3 separate regions of the Homo sapiens genome follow, and regions 1 and 3 are each linked to region 2. Evidence: promoter capture Hi-C in human tissues and cell types (Jung and others, 2019). All regions are on one chromosome and are shown on one strand. Each heading gives the region's core, a stretch centred on a gene start or on the middle of the fragment in contact. The rest is flanking DNA. Distances are from core to core; before and after follow the strand shown. Region 1 overlaps NCOA6 (nuclear receptor coactivator 6). Region 2 holds the start of CDK5RAP1 (CDK5RAP1 mitochondrial tRNA methylthiotransferase). Region 3 overlaps TM9SF4 (transmembrane 9 superfamily member 4).

Region 1 (2,700 bases), core at 52-2,551, 1.4 Mb before region 2:
AAGGTGCTCTGCTCAAATTTGGAAGTATTTTTGCCATATTTACTTATAACAGAAGAATTTTTCCCCCAAGGATTGCTTAGGTTGGTTTTTGGAAAGCCTTTGCTGTTGAAGTTTAGTCAGTAGTAATTTTTTTATTTTATTTTATTTATTTATTTTTGAGATGAAGTCTTGCTCTTGTCCCCTAGGCTGGAGTGCAGTGGTGCGATCTCAGCTCACTGCAGCCTCCGCCTCCAGGGTTCAAGTGATTCTCCTGCCTCAGCCTCCCAAGTAGCTGGGATTATAGGCGCCTGCTACCATGCCCAGCTAATTTTTCTATTTTCAGTAAAGACGGGGTTTCACCATGTTGACCAGGCTGGTCTCGAAATCCTGACCTCAGGTGATCTGCCCACCTCAGCCGCCTAAAGTGCTGGGATTACAGACATGAGCCACCGCGCCCAGCCTATTTTATTTTTATTTTTAGAGACAAAAATGTTGCTATCACCCATACTGGAATGCAGTGGCACTATCGTAGCTCACTGCTGCCTCGAACTCCTGGGTTTGAGGGATCCTCCCGCCTCAGCCTCCTGAGTAGCTGGGGCTATAGGCATGCACCACCACACCCAGTTAATTTTTTTATTTTTTGTAGAGACAAGGTCTCACAGTGTTGCCCAGGCTGGTCTTAAATCGCTGCCCTCAAGCCATCCACCAGCCTCACTATTTAAAAAAGAAAAATTGGTTGGACATGGTAGCTCATGCCTGTAATCCCAGCACTTTGGGAGGCCAAGGTGGGAGGATCACCTGAGCCTAAGAGTTTGAGACCAGCCTGGGCAATATGGCAAGATCCAATCTCTGCAAAAAATTTTAAAAATTAGCTGGGCACGGTGGTACACGCCTGTAACCCCAGCTGCTTGGGAAGCTGAGGCGAGAGGATCACTTGAGCCCAGGAGGTTGAGGCTGCAGTGAGCCATGTTTTTGCCACTACATTCCAGCAACAGAGAAAGACCGTGTCTCAAAAAAATAAATTAAAAAAAAAAAAGTTAAACGGTGTTTGAGTTACTTTTTTTCATTTATGCAAGGAATATAACCATATTACAGCAGTTTTGTATTTCCTAATGATTTGCAGCATATTTGGAAAATAGGAAAATAAAATTTATCAATGATCCTACCAACCTAATATAGTTGCTTTTTAGGGGATTAATTTTCTTATCCATCTTTTTTTTAAGAAACTTGTAATTATAGTTATAAGTATAAAGTAATAATTCGTAATACTTTAATAATATAAATAAGTGCCATAAATAAAGGCTGGACATGTGCCATAAATAAATAAGTGCCATAAATAAATAAAAGGTGGCTCACGCCTGTAATTCTAGCACTTTGGGAGGCCAAGGTGAATGGCTTGCTTGAGCTCAGAAGTTCAAGACCAGCCTGGGCAACATGGCAAAACCCCATCTCTACTAAAACTACAAAAGATTAGCCAGGCATGATGGTGCTTGCCTGTAGTCCCAGCTACTCGGGAGGCTGAGGCAGGAGAATTGCTTGAACCTGGGAGGTGGAGGTTGCAGTGAGCCGAATTGTGCCACCGCAGTGCAGCCTGGGCAAAAAAGTGAGACTCTGTCTCAATCAATCAATCAATCAATGTTGTATTATAGTTAAAATTATAAGGAATTATTTTATTAGAACATTTGTGGGAGGTTCTTAGGTTTCCATGCCATTTTTGCTTACCGCAAATGCTGAAAATTAATGTTCATTCATTTACTTTTGGGTTAAGTATGTGATCTTCAATCCCCAAACTAACAGAGGAAATGGCCACACTGTGTGATCTTTAATACATGTACTCTTTGGTAAGCAGCATACCTGAAGATAGCAGAAAATGTAACTTCTTTATATCTAAAATTTAGGAAGCAATTTAATTCTGTCCGGAACACAGTTCTTTACCTCCATAAAGATTACCTGTCCATATCAACCCCCTTTTTTTTTTGAGACGGAGTCTTGCTCTGTTGCCCAGGCTGGAGTGCAGTGACGCAACCTCGGCTCCCTTCAACCTCCACCCTCCTGGATTCAAGCAATTCTCCTGCCTCAGCCTCCCTAGTAGCTGGGATTACAGGCATACACCACCATGTCCAGCTTATTTTTGTGTTTTAGTAGTGGCAGGGTTTCATTATGTTGGCCAGGCTGGTCTCAAACTCCTGACCTCAAGTGATCTGCCCACCTTGACCTCCCAAAGTGCTGGGATTACAGGTGTGAGCCACTGCGCCCAGCCCTTTCATATAAGAATTTTTAAGTGTTTATTTCAGAATCATTATTTTCAGCCATTCCACTGTTAATAACCCTTTAATAGTTGTTTAAAATGGTTCATGAAAGACTTCAGAATTTTAGGTAATCATCCAGTTGCTATTAGTCAGGTCTGGTTGTGCTTTGTAGTTTGGAGAAAGAAGAAGGCTTTAGAAACCTTGGCTCCTTTTAAGCTTTTGTCAAGACAGAAGTAGGGGGAGTCTTGGGGAGCCCCTTGCTCTGTGGGGTCAACCAAAGGCCTATAATTCTCAAAAAGTATGTACTTGTTTTATTTTCTTGTGATCCTTTCTTCCCTTCTCCTGACATTCTAGCTTATAAAAAAGTAGCATATAACATAATAAAAAGAATGTTAAATTTAAGACTAGTGTATTTTTATTTTTGGTAACTGTAAGAACTAATTGTTTTAGAATGTCATAATTAAAATAGCTT
Region 2 (2,700 bases), core at 36-2,535:
GCCCATCTTGGCCTCCCAAAGTGCTGGGATTACAGATGTGAGCCACCACGCCCGGCCTGCCACGGAGAGTTTTCAGGAGAGGGGTGATATAATTTGATTTAATAAAACAAACACAAATTCCCTTAGGCTATGTGTGGGAAACTGTTCTCAGGAGACAAGGTGACCATTAGCAGGCTACTGTGATTGTTTCTGATGAGACAATGGTGGCCTGGGTAGTTGTAGCTACCGAGTAGACAGATTTGACATTTTGGAGTTAGAGTTGACAGGGCTTACTGACAGATAGAATGTGGGGATCCAGGGAGGTGAAGAAAATGACCATTCAGTTCCTCCTAGTGCACCTGGAAGGATGGTTGGGCCATTTACTGAGATGGGCCAGAATGACAGGTACAGGTTTTTGGTGAAGGTGCATGTGTGGAAATGAAGAGTTCTGTATAAGTTAGAGATGGTCATCAGACACTCAAGAAGGGGTGTCAAGTAGGCAGCTGAGCTATGGCTCTGGTACTGCAGGGAGGGTCCAGCTGGAGATGTGAATCAGGAAGTCATTAACCTACAGGGCAGCACCCTCCAATAGAAATAGAGCGTGAACCTCTTAGGTGACTTAAAATTTCCCAGTAAGGACCGGACACGGTGGCTCATGCCTACAATCCCAGCACTTTGGGAGGCCAAGGTGGGAGGATGGCTTGCGCCTAGGTAGGAGTTTGAGACCAGCCTGGGCAACATGGGGAGACCGGTCTCTACAAAAAAATTAAAAAAATTTTAGCTGGGCGTGGTGGCGCCTGCCTGTAGTCCCAGCCACTTGGGAGTGTGAGGTGGGAGGATTGCTTTAGCATGGGAGGCGGAAGCTGCAGTGAGCCATGATCACACCATATTATTTTTCCCCCTGCTAGCCACATTGAAAAAGTAAAAAGAAACAACAGGTGAACTTAATTCAAATATTTCTACCACCATAGCTACAAATAAAAAAAACTAATTCAACAAATGTACTTATTTAATCCAATATATCCCAACAATTATTGCAGCACATAATCAATATAAACATTATATATATGAACTATTTGACACTATTTGACATTTCTTCTTCCACATCCAGTGTATCTGACATTTAGCGCACATTTGATTTGCACTCACCCACTTTGAGGAGCTCAATTGCCGCTTAAGTCCGTGGCTAGTGGCTGCCCTAAAGTTCAGCACCGCCACGGAGCTTTGGGTCCACCCGGACTGTAAAAAGGAAGCACTTCCGTTAGCATGACCCGGCCTGAAGTAGCGGCGGAACGGAAGTCGCTTGTGTATGAACGCAGCGGCGGACCTGTGAGGGGATCCGACTTGCCGGCAGAACTTACGCTGCGGGACCCCGGGCACTGTTGCTGCTGCGGGAGGTGAGCAGCGCGGCCGCCGGGGTGGGCTGCGCACCCGCTTTTGACTGGCGCCTGGGGCAGGAGGGGCCGCGGATCCCGGGAAGCGCACGGTGTTCAAGAGGGAGGATGGCACGGTGGTTATGGCGTGGGGCCTGGCGTCAGGCTGTAGGGGTTCGTACCCTAACCCCGCCGCCTAACCCCGTGTGACCTTGGACAGGTCACCTCCACTTCTTTCAAGGCTTCGCTTCGCCACCCGTGAAGTGGGGTTGACAGTACAGCCTGCCTCACAGGGTTGCTATGAGGGTTATAGGTAATAATTCGCGGAAAATGCTTTGCACCATGCCTAACGCATTGTAACCAGCCAATAAAATGTTTGGGATGTTGTACGCTGTTGTTCCAGCCTCATTGCCGACTGTCAGAATTAATTTCGAGCCTCCAGAGAGGCTTCTACATTGCGTTATGCAAAGCATTTTGCTTGTATTATTGCATTTGATCCTACGGTAGGCTTATGGAGATAGGTGCTATTATCCCCATCTAGAGGCTCCCAGAGTTTAAGACAGGTGCCTAAGGTTTAGCTGGCTTGGCAGCAGTGGGGTCAGATTCTGACTCCAGGGTCCATACTTTTTTTTTCTTGAGACGGGAGTCTTGCTCTGTCGCCCAGGCTGGAGTGCAGTGACGCGATCTCGGCTCACTGTAGCCCCTGCCCCGCGAGTTCCAGCGATTCTCCTGCCTCAGCCTCCTGGGTAGCTAGGATTACAGGCGCATACCACCACACCCGGCTAAGTTTTGTATTTTTAGTGGAGTTCATACTCTTAACCAGGATGCTCTAATACTCTCTGTGAAAGGGGGTGTGGGCTGTAAATGTGCAGTTAGTGAACGCTTACTGTATCTCAAGTTGGGTTTTTAATATCTTATTCTTAATAACACTTATGGGGTGGTAGGTGCTGCTTTTATCCTTATTTTACACATGTGGAATTGGCGGCTCAGAGACAGAAATTTGTCTTGCCAAAGGTCACACAGCAATTATGGAGTAGAAAGGGGCGATTTTAAAGTTCACACTTTAAGGCTGTTCTTCTCTGACTCTTGAAACTGGGTTGGCATTGCTCCTAAGTGCTAGTAGCAGATGTGGCAGGTCATCTCATTGGAAAGGTAATGGGCCACATCTGCTCTTTACACGTGTATAGCAGGGTTCCCCTAACCCTAGGTGGTAGAATGGTACCTGTCTGTGGCCTGTGAGGAACCGGGTTGCACAGCAGGAGGTGAGCAGCAAAGCTGGCATTACTGCCTGAGCTCTGCCTCCCGTCAGATTGGCCACGGAATTAGTTTCTCAGGAACACAAACCCTA
Region 3 (2,700 bases), core at 160-2,659, 1.3 Mb after region 2:
TTAAAAGAACTTCAGAGGTCATATAATCCAGGGGGTCAGAGAGGGAAACTGAAAGACCCACGGTCACACAGCAAGTTATCTGCAAAGTGAAGTAAGTCCAGTTCCACCCAGACTGGCACAGCCAAGTGAACAGAGGTCTATCACCAGGCTGGGAACCATGCTTAGGGACAGTTTGAGGTCACGATTAGAGGTGTTCAAGAAGAACTGTACTGCCACAGATGAACTGCTTATTTTTCTCCTTTGACCATCCCTTTCCAATTATTTTCCTCTGATTGTTTGTCTCACTTGTCTCTCCCCCAATTCAAAGCCTTTCTTTTAACAAACCATTGTAGTCAATTTGGTATTTGTCCGTTACTTCGGGATGATTTTGAAAAGAGAAATAATGAAGGCAGGCTAGTTTTACTAAACATTAAAATGTAGACCTACCCAGGCCAGGCATGGAGGCTCACACCTGCAATCCCAGCACTTCGGCAGGAGAATCACTTGAGGACAGATGGGAGTTTGAGAACAGCCTGGACAAAATAGTGAGACCTTGTCTCTACAAAATTATTTAAAAATTAGTTGGGTATGGTGAAGTGGGCTTGCAGACCTAGCTACTTGGGAGGCTGAGGCAGGAGGATCACTTGAGTTCAGGAGTTTGAGGTTGCAGCGAGCTATGATTGTGCCACTGCACTCTAGCACAGATGACAGAGGGAGACCCTATCTCTTTAAAAAAAAAAATATATATATATATATATATATGAGAGAGAGAACACGTGAGCTAGAGAGCTATCCAAAGTGTTTGATACTGGTGAAAAGAACATAAAAGACTTACAAGTATAATTAAAATAGAAGTATTAGAAGAAAATATGGATATGCTTTTAAATAATCTTCATGGAAAGTTTCCTAAGAATAAAGCAAAATCCAGAAGGTATAAAGAAAATGTATATATAAATGTATAAGGGAAAAAAATGAAAAAATACACCAAAGAGAAAGAAAAAGAGTTTAGGTAAAAACATTTAACATACTTGACCAAGAACTACTTTCTTCAATATACAAGGACACTTAGAAACTGATAAAGGACAAATAATCCAAAAGAAATACGAATGGGCAGTTAAAAAAAAAAGCTCAAATGGCCAAACACAAAAAGATGCTCAGCATCATTCATAATTTAAAAACTGTAGGTCAAAATAATATCTCATTTTTTGCTTAACAGAGTTATAAAGCTTTAAAAAGTATGATTAGCCTAGATGTAGGTAAACTGGTACAGTCTTTAGGGAGGGTAATTTAGTGATATATACTTACATAGAAGGTAGAACTGTTACTGAAGTACTGCCAACATAAGCTATTACGTAGAAAAAAAAAAGCCTCTCCCTCTCCCTCTCCCCCTCCCCCCTCCCCCTCCCCCCTCCCCCTCTCCCCCTCCCCCCCTCCCCCTCTCCCTCTCCTCATGGTCTCCCTCTCATGCCGAGCCGAAGCTGGACTATACTGCTGCCATCTCGGCTCACTGCAACCTCCCTGCCTGATTCTCCTGCCTCAGCCTGCGGAGTGCCTGCAATTGCAGGCGCACGCCGCCACGCCTGACTGGTTTTCGTATTTTTTTGGTGGAGACGGGGTTTCGCTGTGTTGGCCGGGCTGGTCTCCAGCTCCTAACCGCGAGTGATCTACCAGCCTCGGCCTCCCGAGGTGCCGGGATTGCAGACGGAGTCTGGTTCACTCAGTGCTCAATGGCGCCCAGGCTGGAGTGAAGTGGCGTGATCTCGGCTCGCTACAACCTCCACCTCCCAGCCGCCTGTCTTGGCCTCCCAAAGTGCCGAGATTGCAGCCTCTGCCCAGCCGCCACCCCGTCTGGGAAGTGAGGAGCATCTTTGCCTGGCCACCCATCGTCTGGGATGTGAGGAGCCCCTCTGCCTGGCTGCCCAGTCTGGAAAGTGAGGAGCGTCTCTGCCCGGCCGCCATCCCATCTGGGAAGTGAGGAGCGCCTCTTCCCGGACGCCATCACATCTAGGAAGTGAGGAGCGTCTCTGCCCAGCCGCCCATCGTCTGGGATGTGAGGAGCGCCTCTGCCCGGCCGCCACCCCGTCTGGGAGGTGAGGAGCGTCTCTGCCCGGCCGCCCCGTCTGAGAAGTGAGGAGACCCTCCGCCCGGCAGCCGCCCCGTATGAGAAGTGAGGAGCCTCTCCGCCCGGCAGCACCCCCGTCTGAGAAGTGAGGAGCCTCTCCGCCCGGCAGCCACCCCGTCTGGGAAGTGAGGAGCATCTCCGCCCGGCAGCCACCCCGTCCGGGAGGGAGGTGGGGGGGGTCAGCCCCCCGCCAGGCCAGCCGCCCCGTCCGGGAGGGAGGTGGGGGGTCAGCCCCCCGCCAGGCCAGCCGCCCCGTCCGGGAGGGAGGTGGGGGCATCAGCCCCCGGCCCGGCCAGCCGCCCCGTCCGGGAGGGAGGTGGGGGGGTCACCCCCCCCGCCCGGCCAGCTGCCCCGTCTGGGAGGTGAGGGGCGCCTCTGCCCGGCCGCCCCTACTGGGAAGTGAGGAGCCCCTCTGCCTGGCCAGCTGCCCCGTCCCGGAGGGAGGTGGGGGGGTCAGCCCCCCGCCCGGCCAGCCACCCTGTCCGGGAGGGAGGTGGGGGGGTCAGCCCCCCGCCCTGCCAGCCGCCCCGTCCGGGAGGGAGCTGGGGGGGGTCAGCCCCCCGCCCGGCCAGCCGCCCCGTCCGGGAGGGAGGTGGGGG

What was found. The method cuts DNA at HindIII sites, captures the fragments that hold promoters and counts their contacts. A contact is called where the count stands out against the background at its distance.
Region 1: a contact is called between a fragment that was not itself captured here and the fragment with the promoter of CDK5RAP1 in region 2, in 1 of the 25 tissues and cell types used here (small bowel).
Region 3: a contact is called between a fragment that was not itself captured here and the fragment with the promoter of CDK5RAP1 in region 2, in 1 of the 25 tissues and cell types used here (pancreas).

The regions. Positions count from the first base shown.
Region 1 is chr20:34,782,539-34,785,238 of GRCh38, reverse strand. All of the region lies in intron 2 of NCOA6 (nuclear receptor coactivator 6), which reads left to right. Among named protein-coding and RNA genes, the nearest start is that of NCOA6, 42 kb to the left of the region's middle. The HindIII fragment of the contact is 4,070 bases long and covers 1-2,700 here.
Region 2 is chr20:33,400,104-33,402,803 of GRCh38, reverse strand. CDK5RAP1 (CDK5RAP1 mitochondrial tRNA methylthiotransferase) reads left to right here and starts at 1,285. Exons shown (of 14, transcript NM_016408.4): 1 at 1,285-1,376. It overlaps LOC124904889 (a long non-coding RNA gene), which reads right to left and starts at 1,222. Exons shown (of 2, transcript XR_007067567.1): 1 at 1,129-1,222. RefSeq lists enhancers at 1,145-1,344, 1,485-1,574. The HindIII fragment of the contact is 17,720 bases long and covers 1-2,700 here.
Region 3 is chr20:32,121,887-32,124,586 of GRCh38, reverse strand. The region is part of intron 1 of TM9SF4 (transmembrane 9 superfamily member 4); the gene reads right to left. Among named protein-coding and RNA genes, the nearest start is that of TM9SF4, 14 kb to the right of the region's middle. RefSeq lists an enhancer at 2,556-2,700. The HindIII fragment of the contact is 6,207 bases long and covers 1-2,700 here.